Regions from separate parts of the Homo sapiens genome. Here region 2 is linked to region 1. Evidence: promoter capture Hi-C in 16 types of primary human blood cells and fetal thymus (Javierre and others, 2016). All regions are on one chromosome and are shown on one strand. Each heading gives the region's core, a stretch centred on a gene start or on the middle of the fragment in contact. The rest is flanking DNA. Distances are from core to core; before and after follow the strand shown.

Region 1 (5,083 bases), core at 668-3,167:
TGCAATTAAAACCAAATGTTTTTAGCTTTTCCCCTTTCAAGAAAATGAAAATTAAAGCTTTTCCATAATTGCAAGCAAAACAACTCTAATGGCCCTCTTAGAAGAAATCCAGAACTTCATACTATGGCTTAGAATGCACTACACAATTTGGTGGATGCATATCTTTCTTATCTGCTACTCTCCCCTGGTCTCACCTTACTCATCACACTGGACCTCTTTCTGGTCTACAGGTAAAGCAATTCATTCGTTCTTCAAGACCTTTTTTTGTTTTGTTTTGAGACGGAGTTTCACTCTTGTTGCCCAGGCTGGAGTGCAATGGCATGATCTCAACTCACTATGACCTCCATCTCCCAGGTTCAAGCGATTCTCCTGCCTCAGCCTCCCTAGTAGCTGGGATTACAGGTGTGCGCCACCATGCCCAGCTAATTTTTTGTATTTTTAGTAGAGACGGGGTTTCACTATGTTGGCCAGGCTGGTCTCGAACTCCTGACCTTAGGCGATCCACCCGCCTCAGCCTCCCAAAGTGCTGGGATTACAGACGTGAGCCACTGGGCCCGGCGTCTTTAAGACCTTTAAAAGAAATAGCAATAAAGTGCACGATTCCTTAGGCCAGGGGAGGTGGTTTTCACTTGTTATCCCAGAATTTTGGGAGGGTAAGGCGGGGGGCTTGCTTGAGGCCAGGAGTTCGCGACCAGCCCAGGAAACATGGTGAAGCCCTTCTCTACTAAAATACAAAAATTAGCTGGGCGTGGTGGTGTGTGCCTGTAGTCCCAGCTACTTGGGAGGCTGAGGCACGAGAATCGCTTGAACTCTGGAAGCCGAAGTTGCAGTAAGCCAAGATCGCACAGCTGCACTCCAGCTTGGGTGAAAGAGCAAGGCCCTACCTAAAAAATAAAAAAATAAAATAAACAGATAAACAACTATTTCTTAATATATGCCCCATTATTATTCCTTATCTGAAATTGAATTTAACTGAGATCCTGTAATTTTATTTGTTAAATGTAGTAACTAAATAGAGTCTTCCTATTTACTAACTAAAAATAAACACTGGGTGGCTCTTGCCTGTTTGTACTTGAGAGGGTTAGGCGGGAGGATCGCACGAGCCCTGGAGTTCGAGGGGGCAGTGAGCTATGATCAGGCCACTGCACTCCAGCTTGGGCGTCAAAGTGACAACCTGTCTCTAATAAAAAATAACAAACAGCCTTCCGCAGTTTGTCAGTACTATTTCTTTCTGCCAATTAATAGTTGTGTGACCCTGAGCAGGTAATATCTCGGGACTCTGCATCTGTAAAGCGATGGATAAAGAGACCTACCTCATAAGAACTATGAGGCTTAAATAAGATAGTGTGTGTAGCGTTTCTCGCATAGTCTGCGCTCACTAAACGGAGTTATTGTATATCGTTCGTTGTTAACTACCACAAAGGCTCTGCTCAGAGGTGCGTAGGCGCTGGCTCAGCCTGGGGTGAACCCACCAGGCCACCGAAACGAGCGATCAGGGTCGGCAAAGCTGTGGAGATGAAATGGGCAACACCTTCCACACTGCGAGTAAAGCTCGCAATCCGGGTGGAGGCCTCCACGTCCTAGCGCAGTCCAGTCCCGGGCGCAGGGAGGAGAGCTGGTCAGCCAAGATTCCAAGACAGGTGTCCACCTCCTCCAACGAAGCGGAACACGTGACACCACCCTATCCACTTCCGGCTTGGAGGGCATGCCCTCCCGTCACCAGCATGCACTTTCGACAAAACCGTGGAATCTAGTATTTTCCTCTGACACCTTTATATTTTCTTCACTTCCCTATAATTCTGACCTATCGTGTAGGTAAAAATTAATCTTCAGAGTATTACAGACATGCGTGCCCACGCGCTAGGCGAAAGTGCGAGTCGGAAGCACTTCATTCCCTCTCTTCGCTAGCCGGAAGTCGCGAGATCTGAATGAGTCAAAGCCGGCGGCCTCGGCTCCTCAGCTCCACCTGACAGTAGGCCGCTGATCGGCCGCGGGTCTTGTCGACCGCTAGGCCACCAGGTTCATGTGGAGGCTCCCAGGCGCCCGCGCCGCGCTTCGGGTGATCCGGACGGCGGTGGAGAAGCTGAGCCGGGCTGAAGCGGGGAGCCAGACAGCGGCGGGAGCGATGGAGCGCGCTGTAGTGCGCTGCGTACCTTCGGAACCCAAGCTGAGCCTGTCATTCGCTTTGGCTGATGGTAGCCACAAGAACATGCAGCGCGACCAGAGCGAGCCGCTGGGTCGAGTCCTCAGCCGCATCGCTACCAATGCCCTAAAGGGTCACGCTAAGGCGGCCGCCGCCAAGAAGAGCAGGAAGAGCCGGCCGAATGCTAGCGGCGGTGCGGCCTGTTCAGGGCCGGGGCCTGAGCCGGCTGTGTTCTGCGAGCCCGTGGTGAAGCTGTACTACCGGGAAGAGGCAGTGGCTGAGGACGTGCTCAACGTGGATGCCTGGCAAGACGGCGCGGTGCTGCAGATCGGCGATGTTAAGTACAAGGTGGAGCGCAACCCGCCCGCCTTCACCGAACTGCAGTTGCCGCGCTACATCATGGCCGGGTTCCCTGTGTGCCCCAAACTCAGCCTCGAATTTGGGGATCCCGCCAGCTCCCTTTTCCGCTGGTATAAGGAAGCCAAGCCCGGAGCGGCGGAGCCCGAGGTCGGTGTCCCCTCGTCATTGTCTCCCTCCTCACCTTCTTCTTCTTGGACTGAGACTGATGTGGAGGAGCGTGTCTACACCCCGTCCAATGCCGACATCGGGCTAAGGCTCAAGCTTCACTGCACCCCAGGCGATGGGCAGCGCTTTGGGCACAGCCGGGAGTTGGAAAGTGTGTGTGTGGTAGAGGCTGGGCCTGGCACCTGCACTTTTGACCACCGGCATCTCTACACGAAGAAGGTGACTGAGGACGCTCTCATCCGCACTGTCTCTTACAACATCCTGGCAGACACGTACGCGCAGACTGAGTTCTCGCGAACGGTTCTGTACCCATACTGTGCCCCCTACGCCCTGGAGCTCGACTACCGCCAGAACCTTATCCAGAAGGAACTCACCGGCTACAACGCCGATGTCATCTGTTTGCAGGAGGTTGACCGCGCAGTGTTTTCTGACAGCTTGGTACCCGCCCTAGAGGCCTTCGGGCTCGAGGGGGTGTTTCGAATCAAGCAGCACGAAGGCCTGGCCACTTTCTACCGAAAGTCTAAGTTCAGCCTTCTTAGCCAGCATGACATTTCATTCTACGAAGCCCTCGAGTCCGACCCACTTCACAAAGAACTGCTGGAGAAACTAGTTTTGTACCCATCAGCGCAGGAGAAGGTGCTCCAGAGATCTTCTGTTCTTCAGGTAAAGTAGTTCCGCCCGTCTCTTCACATACTGTCCCACTTTTAGGGGCCAGGAAGGCGAGGAATGAGGTGGGGGTTAAAAGTGCGATGAAAGTATCCAGATATTGTTGAAAGGTGTGTTTGCCCTTGTATCTTCAGCACAAAGTTTACTCTTCATTCATTCAGCAGATATTTTTTGAACACCTCTGGTGTGCCTGCCATACTGCAGGTTGCCTTGAACAAGACTAGCAGGGACTTTTACAGTGCTTACAATCTAGCGAGAGGGACACACGCTAAATGCAAGAACAATAGTAGCTAATGTTTTTTACTACTTGCCAAGCACTGTTCTGGCACATTTTAAAGTACTTAAAATTTAAGAGCGTGGTGTGTTTTGAAGTGCTCCATAAATATAAACTAGTTTTTTTTAAATCATAGGCTCATTGAATCTTCACAGTAAGTCCCCTATTCCCATTTTATAGATGTCATTCTTGTGTTAAAGTTTTTAAGTAATTGATTTTGTTCATAATAAGAAGAGCAGCTACCATTTTTTAAGTACCTAAGGTGTTTCATGCACCTTATAAGATCATTTAATTGACTCCACACAACAGCCCATGAGGTGGATGGTATTGTCAGTGACTGCCAGTACGAAACTGGCTAGAAAAGCATCTTTTTGCAGGTCACATTGCTATAAATGGTGAAATGAGTATTCAAACCCAGGTCTGCCTGACTCCAAAGCCTGTGCTTACGCTTGAAAACACTTTCTCCAGTCAAAGTGTTGTCATGTAAAATGTATTGTTTATATTACTAGCTTTATATATTGGACTATTATTATTATTATTATTATTTTGAGACGGAGTCTCTGTCACCTAGGCTGGAGTACGGTGGCGCGATATCGGCTCACCGCAACTTCCGCCTCCCGGGTTCAAGCGATTCTCCTGCCTCAGCCTCCCTAGTAGCTGGGACTAGAGGCGCGTGCCACCACGCCCGGCTAATTTTTTTAGTAGAGACGGGGTTTGGGGTTTCACCATGTTAGCCAGGATGGTCTCGATCTCCTGACCTCGTGATCCGCCCGCCTCAGCCTCCCAAAGTGCTGGGATTACAGGCGTGAGCCACCACGCCCGGCCTATATTGGACTATTATTAAAACATGTTACACTGAACCTAGTCATGTAGATCCTGAAACTTTAAGTTGGATTTCATGACTGCAGTCCTAGTTCATCAAGGGAAGGAGATGGAAGAAAACGTTAGTTCGCCATTAGTCTTAGATAAAAAACAGGCCGGGCCTGGTGGCTTATGCCTGTAATCCCAGCACTTTGGGAGGCCGAGGCGGGTGGATCACAAGTCAGGAAATCGAGACCATCCTGGCTAACACGATGAAACCCCGTCTCTACTACAAATACAAAAAAATTAGCCGGGCGTGGTGGCACGCGCCTGTAGTCCCAGCTACTCCGGAGGCAGAGGCAGGGGAATCGCTTGAACCCGGGAGGCGGAGCTTGCAGTGAGCCGAGATCGCGCTACTGCACTCCAGCCTGGTTGACAGAGTGAGACTGTCTCGAAAAAACTCAAAAAAACAAACAAACAAACAAAAACATTCAGGAGATTTGCAAATGCCAACTGAACTCTTGGCACTTTCCGTTTATTTTAGGTTTCAGTTCTTCAGTCTACAAAGGACTCTTCTAAAAGGATATGTGTTGCTAATACCCATCTTTACTGGCATCCTAAAGGTAGGTTTTATTTGGTATCACAAGTGACTTAAACACGCTTAAAGTTGTTTA
Region 2 (5,083 bases), core at 950-3,449, 870 kb before region 1:
TTAAAATATGAATGCAACAGAACCTGCACTGTTTTTGAATTTTTTTAATAAAGTTGAATTTATGTATTAAATTCTATCAGCAACCACTAACTTCTCTCAGCTTGAACAAGATAAAATTCATGGTGGTAAAATAGCTGCTTATTTAATTTTTTAAAGTTCTATTTAAATCGCTATTTTACTATTTGAACAGCTGGTGTTCAGGGTATAAATAATTACACAAGTTAAAAATTGCTCATTTTCACTAATCATGACAAAGTCCACTGCGATATATTTTCCTCCCAACTTTTGTCTGTAAGTAAAAATGGAAAATACAAGTTTTACCCAAGAGGTACAAGACTATGGGGGACAACAGCTAGATTTATATTTCCTAATCCCTCAATTATTTCCACTTTTAGTGTGTTCAGCTGAAGTCTATTTTACAACAATCTCTGGATTTTATCTAATTTTAAAAAAACACACAAACACAGTGCCTTTCCAGTTCCTACTGCCTTCCCACATTTCAAACTAAATTTTGAAGAGTTTCTAGGCCAATCTTCTGGTCCTAACAAACAGTAAAAAAAAAAAAAAAAAAATCACGGTTTGTCCATATTCTTAGGCACTTAAACCTTAAAAATAGATTTCAAACGGCTTTTATCAAGCTGTGAAGAAAAAAAATAGTTCCACCTCCTACCTCATAACCAGAGCCCATTTGAATGTACTTCCTACCTATTCTCTACCAATTGATTACACTGGGAACTTTTCTCATACAGACTATAATCATACATCTCAAATTTTAACTAAATACACGAAAAGAACTGAGTTTTGACCTTTAAAAGTATCTTTCTGAACCCTAAAATTACATTAACTCAAAAGATATTTCTAGAAACATTCCTCATGCTAATTTCCAAAGGTTAACTTCATCTTTGTCAACATGGTTTCTCACACCAAGTATTTTCTTGGCTTTGCCATCCAAACAAATGAACTTTATTTGTATTTTTCCAATAAAAGGCTCAAACAATTCCAGTAGTGCAAATGGAACTGGTGATGCTTATGGAAAGTCAGTATAATGCTACAGCCAAGACTCTGTACCAGATGGATGGAAAAGATACGGGAAAAAAACAAATCCTATTTTTTTCCAAAGTAAATAATGAAAACCTAACCATACAGTAGGGCAAAAAGGAAGTTGTCTAAATTCAGAATATCCAAAATTTACTGGATAGTTAAAAAATAATACCCCAATAACAAAAAACGATACTAATTTTGACCTCCATTAGGAATTCTGACTCCATATTAACAATATGGCATTAAGATTTTTTAAAAGTACAAGTAATTAATGTAACTGTTTCCATATGGGTTCCAAAAACTAAGACTGGACTTTTTTTTAACCTGAAGTTCTACCATCTAGAAGACCAAGTTGGTGACTCTTGAGAATAAGGTAACTTCTCATTAGTTTTTTTCCATTGGGAAATTACTGCTCCAAGAACCTACCTTTCCATTCTTTTCAAATATAAGAAAAACAATACTAAGTTCGAATTTAAAGAGAGAAAAACCTATTTAATCTAACGCTTCAAAAACAAGGGGGAAAAATCTACATGGAAATGAAGTGTGATGGAAAACAGCAGTGTGCATGGATCACATCTACTAATAGAGATTTCTAAATAAGGGAGGACGCTGACATCAAGCACATTTCAAGTAGACACACAGAACTGAAGAATTTCCACGGGGAGAAGCACTCATGGTCCTCAGAACATTGGCAATGGCCTTGGAGAAAGCCCCAGAATCCATGGCCACGGGCTATTTCCATAGCGAGACTTCTCAGAAGCATCCTTAGGAGGACACAACGGCTTCTCTGCTTTCAGGGGCTGGGAGGGAGGGGCGCCGAGCACCATCTTTCCTCTCTGGGAGCTGCAGCCTTACGGACAAGCTTCAAACCTGAGCTACTTCCAACTTCCGCGGGGAGGGGCAGCAGGGGAGCGTGGTTCCACCGCTTTCTCTCGCACCAAACGCGGCAGCTGGGCGGCCGTGGCGGTGAGGGGAGAGGCGGCCGGCGCTGCATGCGTGTTTACGTATCTCGGATGGGTGTGGGAAGAGGAGATAGAAAGATTCTAATGAAAAGATGGAGGGGAGAGAGAGAGGGGGTTGAGAAGAAGGGGAGGCACCACCTTTCTTTTCTCTGCTCTTCCTGGGGATCTGAAAACTCCTCCTAACAGGCCTTTCGGGCTCTTCGGGGCCTCTGGGCAGGGCGGCCGCGCCCGCCTCAGAGGAGTCCTGAGGCTGCTCGTGGCTGAGGCTCTGGGCGGCCTCGGCCCCCGCGTTCTCCTCACGCCCAGCGCCGCCGCTGGGCTCAGCGATGTTGAGGCCGCCGCCGCCGCCATTTTGTTGGGAGGACTCAAGCTCCGGAAGCGCCTGCTTCATCTCGTCGTCTCCGCCGCCGCCACTTTCCCAACTCGCATCCGTCGGCTGACAGGCCTCCGTCTCCACAGCAGTCGCCATCGCGCCGGCCTAAGGAGCTCTGGGAAGCTTCTGCCCACAAGGTCGACGGGTGTGGGGGGAAGGGGCGGCGGGCCAGTCTCGCCGCCGAGCTGCTCTCAGCCCACCCACCCCCTTCCCCCCGTGGCCTCAGGCTGCGCTCCCGACCTGGCAGCCTCTTGGGGGGCCCTGTAGCGGGCACCCCAAATGCGCTGCCCGGTCCTCGGAGCCGCTCCTCCCTCGGGCAGTTCTTCTGCCTTCCCCCGCCACTCAACGTGCGCGCGTCGGGGCCGGGAGGGGGCGGGGCCACCGCGGGCCACTCCACCAATGGGAGCGCGGCACCCGCCTGCGCGAGTGCGGAAATACCGCGCCGGGGGGCGGAGTTTCGGGGCGCCCGAGCCCGCCAAAAGGGGCGACCGCAACGCCCCGCGAGGACCTCGACGCCGCAGCCGTGGCCTGCGGAATGCGTGGGCCCCTGGCGATCTTCGGGTTCCCGGGGATTCCCCCGCCGCGCTGCAGGCGAGGGAGACTAGCTTGGCCTCTTCTCCGGAGCGCAGGCGTCGCCCATTTGTGGGCAAAACCCTTCCTCTGCGCACGAGTTATCTCGGCCCAAACGGGCTTCAGAGCAGTGGATGCGGGACGATCTCGGTTTTATGAACTATTTGCATGTGTACAAAAACCTGGAGAGGAGATAAAAGAATGGGCTAGGCGGTAATAGCCTAAAAGCCTCGACAGCCTTTGCGACCTGCTATTCTCACCGGATCTTGTATCTTTATGATAGATTACTCGCACCCGGCCTTCTCTTTTATCTCAGAGAGTGTGACCCAGTGTCACAGCTCCAGCAAGCACTTTCACCTGAGATCCTCTGATGGGACTTAACAACCTAGTGTTAACAGGATTTGGTTCTGGGGAGTTTGAGGGGAGGAGGCTGTTAACTTTTCCCATTTTTTTCCTTTAGTCGCACCCCCCCCCACCACACGCCATGGAGACCGCACCTGGCCTCCATTTGTTCCCTTTCTATGGTTACTTCTGTTAAAAATCTGGCCACTGATAAACCTCTAACTCCACTGTTTCTTCCACTGGAACGTTCATCAACGTTTTCCTATAGTAAATGTATATTAAAGAAAAAATAAACTTGCGGTCACATTAAAAAATACACAGCAGGTCGTCGCTCTCCCATAAAGGGAACAACTTCATAGTTAAGAGCCCTTTACATAGTGGTTTCTACCTTATCAGTATAAACTATCACGGGTTATCGTGAGTACAGCCAATATTTACTGAGTGCTTTCTACGTGCTAGACACGGACTGGACAAGTGATTTACGTGCATTGTCTCCATTTAATCCTCACAGCAACAGACATGAGGTAGATACTAGTTTGCAGAATTTGAAAGAAGCGTTGCAAGACACTGGACAAATTATGGTAACCGAAGATTTGAAACCGGGTCTATTTAACTCTCCGAGTAAGTACTTAAGCACTGCACTGACTGCTTCTCTAAGACCTAATTTTCACAGCAGCTGTGCACTTTTATTCATTTTATGGACGAAGCAACAGAGGGCTGACATTTTGTTGAGGGTCGCCAAGCAGCAGGATCAGGTTTGAGACCCAGATCTCTAGTCTCAAACTGTCTCCCAAGGAGTTTACAGACCAAATTATCATCATAATAAAGCCCCAGGCTTAAAGAGCATTCCTAAGGGCAACACGAAAGTTGGATTCTTTTGTCCTCTAATAAACATTACCACTGTTTAACAGCTGATATTAAAAAAAAATCATGAATTGCCCAACCTATTCGAAACAATTTAGTAAATCATACGAAAGAGAGTGTAAATCCATTATTAGTAAATAGTTTAAAAACACATTTTAGGCCAGGCGCAGTGGCTCACGCCCATAATCCCAGCATTTTGGGAGGCCGAGGCGGGCAGATCACCTGAGGTCAGGGGTTGGAGACCAGTCTGGCCAACATGGTGAAACCCCATCTCTACTAAAAATACAAAAATTAGCCGGGCATGGTAGCACATGCCTGTAATCCCAGCTACTCAGGAGGCTGAGGCTTGAGAATTGCTTGAACCCGGGAGGCAGAGGTTGCACTGACCTGAGATGGCACCATTGCACTCCACCCTGGGCTGAGACTTTGTCTCAAAACACACACACACATTTTAAAATATGTTTAAATGAAAAACTGAGGTCTAGGTTGAGGGAAAAATACATTATTTTAAGAAAAAGTTTTTTAGTTGGGGGAAGGGCTTTACTTGATTTAAAAGAGAGTACAGAAGATCAGAAACTCACATTGCAGTCCCAAATTGGTAACTTTCTTTTTTGTTGATTCATTGAAGGCATCCCTAAAAGCTCATTTTTATCAAATTCAAAAATAAGAATTGTAGCCAGGTGTGGCTCACGTCAAAATCCTACTTCGGGAGGTGGAGGCAAGAGAATCACTTGAGCCCAGGAGTTCAAGCCCAGACTGGGCAATAAGTGAGACCCTGTCTCTATTAAAAACAAACAAACAAAAACAACTAATTGCATGCTAATGCCACCACTTATCCACTCAAGAAAAGGCAACTCTACTTGTAAGCTCGTAGGCTATGCATAAAGCAATCACAGGTTGTTAGTAAAGAGTACCTAAAACTAAGGCTAGA

The links. The method cuts DNA at HindIII sites, captures the fragments that hold promoters and counts their contacts. A CHiCAGO score of 5 or more calls a contact.
Region 2: a fragment that was not itself captured here is called in contact with the fragment with the promoter of PDE12 in region 1 in 1 of 17 cell types (total B cells); the score reaches 5.4 in total B cells.

What each region holds. Positions count from the first base shown.
Region 1 is chr3:57,554,357-57,559,439 of GRCh38, forward strand. PDE12 (phosphodiesterase 12) reads left to right here and starts at 1,918. Exons shown (of 3, transcript NM_177966.7): 1 at 1,918-3,331; 2 at 4,954-5,032. The coding sequence starts at 2,024. It also overlaps a transcript of DNAH12 not described here. RefSeq lists enhancers at 1,412-2,191, 2,682-2,851, 3,748-4,380. The HindIII fragment of the contact is 2,707 bases long and covers 56-2,762 here.
Region 2 is chr3:56,680,535-56,685,617 of GRCh38, forward strand. TASOR (transcription activation suppressor) reads right to left here and starts at 2,731. Exons shown (of 24, transcript NM_001365635.2): 1 at 2,142-2,731. The coding sequence starts at 2,472. RefSeq lists enhancers at 1,562-2,506, 1,714-1,833, 2,254-2,423 and a silencer at 2,564-2,863. The HindIII fragment of the contact is 596 bases long and covers 1,902-2,497 here.